2 separate regions of the Homo sapiens genome follow, and region 1 is linked to region 2. The links are contacts of gene promoters, found by promoter capture Hi-C in blood cells and fetal thymus (Javierre and others, 2016). All regions are on one chromosome and are shown on one strand. Each heading gives the region's core, a stretch centred on a gene start or on the middle of the fragment in contact. The rest is flanking DNA. Distances are from core to core; before and after follow the strand shown.

Evidence for each region. The method cuts DNA at HindIII sites, captures the fragments that hold promoters and counts their contacts. A CHiCAGO score of 5 or more calls a contact.
Region 1: a fragment that was not itself captured here is called in contact with the fragment with the promoter of TIAL1 in region 2 in 1 of 17 cell types (fetal thymus); the score reaches 5.3 in fetal thymus.

Annotation. Positions count from the first base shown.
Region 1 is chr10:119,022,127-119,026,379 of GRCh38, forward strand. It overlaps LINC03036 (long intergenic non-protein coding RNA 3036), which reads right to left. Exons shown (of 4, transcript NR_186540.1): 2 at 3,671-3,734. Among named protein-coding and RNA genes, the nearest start is that of LINC03036, 5.3 kb to the right of the region's middle. RefSeq lists enhancers at 181-823, 824-1,466, 2,652-3,225. The HindIII fragment of the contact is 1,721 bases long and covers 456-2,176 here.
Region 2 is chr10:119,595,287-119,599,348 of GRCh38, forward strand. It overlaps TIAL1 (TIA1 cytotoxic granule associated RNA binding protein like 1), which reads right to left and starts at 1,678. Exons shown (of 12, transcript NM_003252.4): 1 at 1,148-1,678. The coding sequence starts at 1,179. It overlaps LOC105378512 (a long non-coding RNA gene), which reads left to right and starts at 278. Exons shown (of 2, transcript XR_946358.3): 1 at 278-706; 2 at 1,328-4,062. RefSeq lists silencers at 691-790, 1,201-1,310 and enhancers at 909-1,907, 1,321-1,910, 1,908-2,905, 2,801-2,890. The HindIII fragment of the contact is 6,118 bases long and covers 386-4,062 here.

The DNA of each region.
Region 1 (4,253 bases), core at 66-2,565, 570 kb before region 2:
CCAGCACTTTGGGAGGGTGAGGCGGGCGGACTGCTTGAGCCCAGGAGTTCTAGACCAACCTGAGCAACATGGCAAAACCCCATCTCTACTAAAAATATGAAAATTAGCCAGGCGTGGTGGTGCATGCCTGTAGTCCCAGCTACTCAGGAGGCTGAGACAGAAGAATCGCTTGAACCCAGGAGGCAGAGGTTGCAGTGAGCCAAGCTCGTGCCACTGCATTCCAGCCTGGGCGACAGAGCAAGACTGTCTCAAAAATAAAGTTAAATGTTAGTCCCAAGGGGCAGCTGATCCACCAGTAACAACCAGGGCAGAACTGTGCCCAGCACCTGATCAGCTGAATTCAGGAGACTCTCCACCTGAAGCTTCAGAATGGGGAAACAAGAAAAGGGGTACTAATGTCAAACTTGAGGCCCGCCTTCAAGAAGCTCAGCATTTCACACCTCGGCCAGAGCCAAAGCTTTGGGCTTTGAGCAAATTAGGAAAAGACACTTCTTCCACAAGGTATCTTTTTCCATCTGTCAGTGAAGTGTCATAATATACTGATTTCGTTAGAAGATACTTTACTCAAGGTCGGCCAGAAAATGATCACAGAGTTACTATGTCTATGAAGTAAAGGTGCCCCCTTAGATGGGAAGCGGTTGTGCAGTACACAACCTGCAGAACTGTACACAACCTGCAGAACCACACATAGCATTCTTTGCTTGGCAGTCTGGTCCCATCCTTTCCACAGCCCTCATATCCCCGCTTCCCCTCCCTCTGCCTAGAGCCCTCAGACCTGTTGGAGAACAGTCTCAATCTACAGGTTACCATTTTACATGTAACTCCTTCCTGTCAGCTTTTTACTTCCCTCCCCCTGCAGACAGCAGGGATTGACGACGGGTGAGAGAAGGCTGATGGCCCCATTTAGGGAAGCACAGGAGGAGGTGGGGAGGCCGGATGTAGTGAATTCCAAATGAATGAGTATCCACGGGCCAGGGGATGATCAAGGAGGTGTGAGGGTTAACAGTGCGGGCCTTGAAGAAATGCCACCTACCAGCTAGCTGTGAGCTGCTGGGCATGCTTTTAGCCTCCCAAAACCTCATTTTCCCTTTTGTGAAATGCTTATCATTGTAGGCCTGCTGGGAGGATTTCAGAAATGATATGAGTGAATGCTTAGTGCACGGTAAGGGCTCAGCACCTGTGAGCTACTGTTATTGCTATTATCAGCATCATCAGCCCAGGGACATCTGCCCTTCCGCCTGTCAGCCTCCAGGCAGCTCCTGCTTTAAACAAAATTGGGACACTCCAGATTTCTAAAAGAAAACCACATGGCAGGGAGGAGGGCAAGTGCTGGAGGGAGAAAGGATTACTCACTTTACCAAAGTACCCACTACTGGATAAACAGAAACACCCAGACTGCTTTTAAATGGGGTTGGTTTTGTTCAGGGGACATTGCTGACACGGACTGGAATGTGTCCTCTCCTGCCCCTGCCGCTGTGTGTTGCTGGCCAGTCTCCCGCACATCTGGACCCCAGAAGTCCCAAGAATGACCGGGTGCATCCAAGGAGGCACAAACCCAGGTTCGGGGAGTGAGAGAAAAATGGGTGCAAATCTCAGTCCTGCTGCTCCTGAGCTTCTCAGCCTTGGGCTCCATGCTGAGCTTTGCCCCCGTCTCCAACAGGTCACCAGCGCACCTGCCTTGCGGGGCAGGGTTGGGGGTGGGGGGCACATGGAATAGTGCATGTCAAGCACCTGGTGCTGATGGTGGTGGTATTATTACCAGCTGGGAGACTTTAGCCCAAGGCAGGGGGTGTGAGATGACACCACGGCACCCGTTTCCCATTCTCCGCATCCCCTTCCAGCCTTGTCCACACACAGAGAATTCTGACATGGTCGTCACCTCCACCTGGCCAGAATATGGTAGCCTACCTTTTCGACAGAATAACCAAATGTATTTTTTTTCACAGTATTACATGTTTCATTTAGAACAAGGGTGTCCAATGTTTTGGCTTCCCTGGACCGCAATGGAAGAACTGTCTTGGACCACACATAAAACACACTAATGACAGCTGAAGGGCTTAATTAAAAAAGGTCTGTGCATAATCTCATAATGTTTTAAGAAAGTTTACAAATTTGTATTGGGCCGCATTCAAAGCTGTCCTGGGCCACATGAGGCCACCTGGCCACAGGTTGGACAAGCTTGATTAAGAATGAAGTCAACTGCACGTATAAAAGGATACCTGGACGTGGTGTGGTGGCTCACGTCTGTAATCCCAGCACTTTGGGAGGCCAAGGCAGGTGGATCACCTGAGGTCAGGAGTTCAAGACCAGCCTGGCTAACATGGTGAAACCCTGTCTCTACTAAAAATACAAAAATTAGCTGGGCATCGTGGTGCATGCCTGTAATCCCAGCCACTCGGGAGGCTGGGGCACCAGAATCGCTTGAACCTGGGAGGTGGAGGTTGCAGTGAGCCGAGATCATGCCACTGCACTCCAGCCTGGGTGACAGAGTGAGACACTGTTTCAAATAAATAAATAAATAAAAGGATACCTGACTTGAAGTGGCTGAAATAATAGAGATGTTATAATTATCTCGTGTAACAAGTCACCAAGTCATCAACAAAAATATCACTAAGGTTTGTTTTTTGTTTTAACTTTTCTGGTAAGCCATCACCTTGCGCCAGCTTTGTGTCCTTAAGCCTTATCACCTCAGCTCTATAGCCTGAGCTGAAGAAGGTGAGGGCCCTGGTTCTTTATTTCTTCCCCCTTTTTATATAAGGAAGCAAACCCCTTCCCAGTATCCTCCCAGCAGACAGCAGATGTCCGCTGAGATCTCCAGGGTGAGAATGGGTCACCAGCCCTCCCCTTACCCAGTGGTGACTAGGGGAAATGGGATGTTTCTGCTTAAACCTGTCACAGTTATGCCCCGAGGCTGAGGGAAGGAATCAGAACAAAGTTAAGTCTGCAAGGAGGGGGAGTGGCTGCCATTTTACTCGACAAGAGCCCTTCACTGACCAAAAGCAGCATCTGGGGCCCAGAGAGGTTAAGCCCCTTGTCCACTACACGTGACTTTGCACCAGCGCCAGGGTGCAAACCCTGTCCCGAGGCCCAGTAAGCTCTCCCCACTTCACCATATGGCTTCTCCACAACAGCAGACCCTAAGCCCAAGCCCCCCAAAGGGCAGGAGCCCCATCCCAGGACTCTCTGAGCTTGACAGAGCCATGATGTGGACAAAGTCAGCCAGGAGAGGGCTCCTCGTGCCCAAATGCACCTCACCCACCTCCAGGCCCATGGCTGACGGAGCCAAAGCACCTCCTGTCCCTGGCAAAGTCCTGGCAGGGGGTCAGCGGGAACCCAGAACCTGACAAACAGCATCGCTATAGCCGCCTGGACCCCGGCCAAGCTGCCTCATTCCCCAGGGCTGACCTCATGTTTCTGAAGAGCCTCAGGAGCCTGAGGTCTGTGAGCTGCCTCACAGGGTTCAGTTCTGCTGCCAGCAAAGGAAATGGCCCGGGCTGGGGGCCATGTGGAGAGGTGGGAGCACAGAACCCAGGCACCCTCCCCACCACCCACCCCTGCCCTGCCAGAGCCCTCAGCCTGTGCCAGGCAGGCCCCACTGCCCCACTCCAGAAGAAACCAAGCAGCACCCTCTAACTTCTGAGGTGTAGCCCATGCCCACCTGTCTTCTCACCTCTGCCGGATACCTGAAGAAACGTTCACAGACTGGCTGTTTCCATCTGTTTCATTCCAGACTCCTGGAAAGTGAGCAAAAGGCAGTGAGACTTCATCAGAGGTGCTAAGAACATCTCTGAAATCGTGCCAACACCTCAAAGAGCTAGAGAGCTCACAGCCAGGCTGAGGCCTGTTGCTGGGTGACAAAAGTCACTGTTTATTTAACCCAGAGCTGGGCCAGGTGCCCACACTGGCCTTTCTATGGTCACTGAGAGCAAAGGCTCCCAGGGTACTGAGGCCCAGCGTGTGCTCCACGACAAAAGCCTTCATGCACTTGGCCTCCACTTCCCGACTTCCCTTCTGGGTCAAATGTCTACTCACCTCGTATAGCAGTCAAGGGGAGCAGCCTGGGGAAACAGCCCATGGCGGACCCCAAGACACACTCATTTCTCCACCTCCTTCTGGGGCATCTCCATCCCAGCTCCACTTCCCACATACCCAGGCTGCAGGTCCCAGCCAAGGTGTTTGTTCCTATTCTTATCCCTTAAAAGTTTTTATTCTCCCCGTACAACCACAAGGGCCGAAAACCATGTTGGGAGGCA
Region 2 (4,062 bases), core at 428-2,927:
AGTGGACTATGATCCTATCAATACCAGGAGAGGCAAGAGAAACAAAGCAGCGATCTGACTCCTTGGTACTCAAGGTAGGAGTGCTAGACCTGGAGAGGCCGGGAAATTAGGGTGCCCAATTTAAACATTTAATTAAAAAGTATTCAGACTTAAAAAAAAAAAAAAAGATGCAGAGAAAAGGAGTGCCACACTATTCAGAAAGGAATGCAAATGCTGAGTCATCACTCTTCATTGGAAAGGAAGGAAACCAGAATTAAGTGGTTGGAAGATGGAATTCATTCATTAGATTGAGCTTCAGGTAAAAAGCAACAGCAAGACAGGAGAAAAAGCGTTCAGAAGACACACATCAAATAGCGGATGAAGACATAATTTTAGCCAACTCTGAAGCTTTCGACGCACAAACAGATTAGGAAGAGGCAACACCTAGAGAGCAAAAGGAGTTTAACAACTGGTTGTCAGTTTAGCGTAGGGAGCGCTCAAAGTAAACTTCTTTATCCAAGAAGGGAAAGATGCTCGGGCAGCAAAAGGTATCCCTTATGTACTTCAAAAGTAGCGGGCGCTAGGCGGGTGTTTCTGACAGCGTGGGCGGGGGCACGTGGGGCATAAAGAGAGAAGGGGCTTGAGTGGTGAAAGAGTGTCCTGCTTCCTCCGAGAGCTTAGCTGGGGAGAAGAGCTGGGAGCGACTCGAGCTGAGGACGTGGAAGGGGTGAGTGCTAATTCCTCAGGGCCCGCGGGGCCCACCCCCGGGCCCACCCCCAATCCTACCCCCGCCAGGCCCTTCCCCCGTGGGCGCCGGCAGCTCCAGGCCCAGCCCAGGGCGTCCAACGCGGAGGGGGTGCAGGAGTTCTCCTGGGCCTGACAGCCTCAGCCGTGCAGAAACCCGGCCTAGGGAGGGCATGCAAAGAAGGACGCCAGAGAAAAAGGTCGAGACAAGCCCCAGACCCCAGGAAGTGACTGTTTGGGGGAAGGGAGGATTTCCTTCCCAAGGAAAAGGGGACAGATGAGGAATGCACTTCGCGTCCACGCCGCCCTGGTCAGGGAGCCGCCTAGAGTCCCGGCTTCGGCCCAGTCTCTCCTGCTCCCTCCCTTAGCGTCCCGCGGTGCCCGGGCCTCTTGGCGCCTGGCACCCCTCGTCTCGGGTACTCACAGAGTCCGGGGCTGCCCGTCGTCTTCCATCATGGTGGGTGCGACGGAGCGATCCCGGGACAAGGGGGAGGGCAGGGTTGGGGAGGGGAGGGGGTGGGGAGGAAGGGGAGGGGGGCTCTGGGCACCGGCTGGGGACAGAGGAAAAGGCACCGAACCCTGCTCTCGGGCTCTCTCCCCCCAGCCCGCTCCGGACACTGCGCTCCAACCAGGAGGAGCAGGAGGAGGAGGAGGATGAACAAAATGGCCGCCGCCACCAGCCAGGCAGGAAACAGGGCAGAGCGCAGGCGCGACCCGCCAGGTCACCGCTCAGGCCAGCCGCGACAGCCTGCAAGGGGGACGACCGAGGGGAGAGAAAAAAGGGCCGCCGAGGAAACCCTGGGACCCGCTCACGACGGATCACGTCGTCGCTGTGGGCCTCTGGCCGGCCGAAGCCCAGCCAGCTCCGGGAGAGATCGGGCAAAAAGAGAAACGTCGTGAAGCCGAAGTCTCTGGGAATTGTGGTCCTGGAAATGAGAGAGGGAAGCACTTCTGCAGAGGACTTCTGGAACCTGTGGTTAAGAGGAGCCGCCGGCGCCCACCCGCGCTGGGACGTGAAGAGGAGACTTCTGGGTAGTGTAGTCATACGTGAGGACGTGCGACGACCAGGAAGTCGGCGGGCTGGGAGGTAAAGGGAAGAATAAAAGCGACATTGAAAGGCGGGGAGACCAAGTGGGGAAAAGCGCTGTCTGGGAAAGCGAACTACAAGTCCCAGAGTTCCTCGCGCCGGGGGCTGTCCTCGGACTGCTCCAGGCATTGTAAGGCTCTTCTGTTGGCCCAGTCTGAGCTGCTGCTCCGCCTTCGTCCAGCCCGAGAGCGGTTTCTTCAACTGTGGCTCAGGCAGCACTCTCCCTCCGCGTGGTGTCCGAGCCAGCAGGGCCGTCCGGCCCTCCTGTGTTCATCAGAACGGCTGGCTCGCGTTAGTCAACCGCCGCTTCGCGCGACAGTCAGAAGAGAGGCTGTGCTGGCGGGGACCCGGAGGGGTTGGGGTGTTTTGGGGACTCGATTTCCCACAAATAGGTATTTCTAGCCTATTTGTTAAATACAAGTAGGTGGCCTGCTTGTAAATTGCTTTACAAGTTTCAGAGGTTTCCCTATCAAATGTCTCATCGGATAGTGGGGTAAGAAGAGGAGCCCTATTATAATGACTTGCCCAACTCCCCCCGTATTCTTGGAGTTAAAAGAAAAAAAAATCCTTGGGCAGAGACGTGCACAAACATAAAGTTGCGTTTACAGACATCAGTCATGTGGGCTAGAAACGCAGTTTTGCATGAAGATAGGGGAAGCCATGTTCATACTAGCTCTGCATCCCTGTAGAATTTGTCTTCTCACCCCCCACAACAGTTCCTGGTGTGCTTTTTTCCTCCTCTAAGTACCTTCAGGAGAAAGTACTTGGTCTTGTAGCTTAGTGAAGAGTGGCGATGAAGAAAGATCTTTCAGCCCATTGCCAGAACTTAACTGCCCCGGTTAGTAATGGCTTAAGAGTTGCTTCTGCCGACATGTACTAAGTGCATGTCGACCTCTGCAAGTGGCGGTGCGTATGCGTGCCACTGAACATTAATCTTGAAAGCAGAATCAACCATGCAGCAAGCCCTTATGTTGTCCATTTTCAGGGGAGGAAATTTCAACCTGAAAGACTTCATAGAGACACGGCAAAGGAGTTGAGCCCCATAAGAGTCCGTAGGAACAACAAAAGGCTCAGACGCCAGGACCCATGGCTAAAATGTATGGGCTGGGGATGCGGGCGGGAGCGGGGGGAAGGGAACTAAAGCTAGAGAGGACCTTGTAGAACCGTGTTGTCAAGAATCTATTTCATGCTGAGGAATTTGAGCTTTCTCTTCCAGGCAGTGAGGAGCCACTCAAAGGTTTTGTCTATGTTTTTAATTGGACCTAGGTGTAGAACTGGATTTAATTATAATCCAATTCATTAACCCATGCCTGGCCCGCTGTGATAGTTTCCTGTTGATGCTGTAACAAATTACTGCAAATTTAGATACTTAAAACAACACGAATTTATTTTCTTACAATTCTGGAAGTCAGAAGTCCAAAATCAGTTACACTGGGCTAAAATCAAGGTGTCGGCAGGGCTGGTTCCTTGCCTTTTCCAGCTTCTAGAGGCTGCCTGCATTCCTTGGCTCTTGGCCCCATCCTCCATCTTCAAGAAAAGAAGCATAGTATCTTCTTTCTTCTCTGCCTCTGTACGTACATCGTGATTCTCCTGCCACCCCTTTTCATTTACGAGAACCTTTTGTGATTACTTTGGGCGAAGATTATCTCAAGATTCTTAATCACATCTGCAAAGTCCCTTTTAGCATAACATTCCCAAATTCTGGGAATTAGGACATAGAAATCTTTGGTGGACCATTATTCAGTTTACCGCACCCACCTTTATTACTTTAGTTTTGATTATAGCCACAAACCCACCACACTAAAAAGTTATAATGACACGAGTTTATATCTGTATCTATGCTATACCTCCTACACACAATAACACACACCCCTGCCTTCGCTTGGGGTAACCATCTTTCTGAATCCTGTCTTTACTATTTATTGCTTTCCTTCTACAAGGTTTTATTCCACATGTACATAGTCCTAAAAATCATATGTATATACATGTATATTTGAGTTTTTTTTTAACTTAGTAAAAAGAATATGCCCACTACAAACTAGAATGGTTAAAATGGGCATGTTTACTGGCAGTGAAATTATTAAGGTTAAAATCCAAAACACTAACACCACCAAGTGCTGGTGAGTATGAAAAGCAACAGGAACTATCATTCTTTGCTGGTAGGACTGCAAAATGTTATAGCCCCTTTGGAGGACAGCTTGTCAGTTCCTTACAAAACTAAACATAATGCCTAGGTACTTACCCAAATGAGC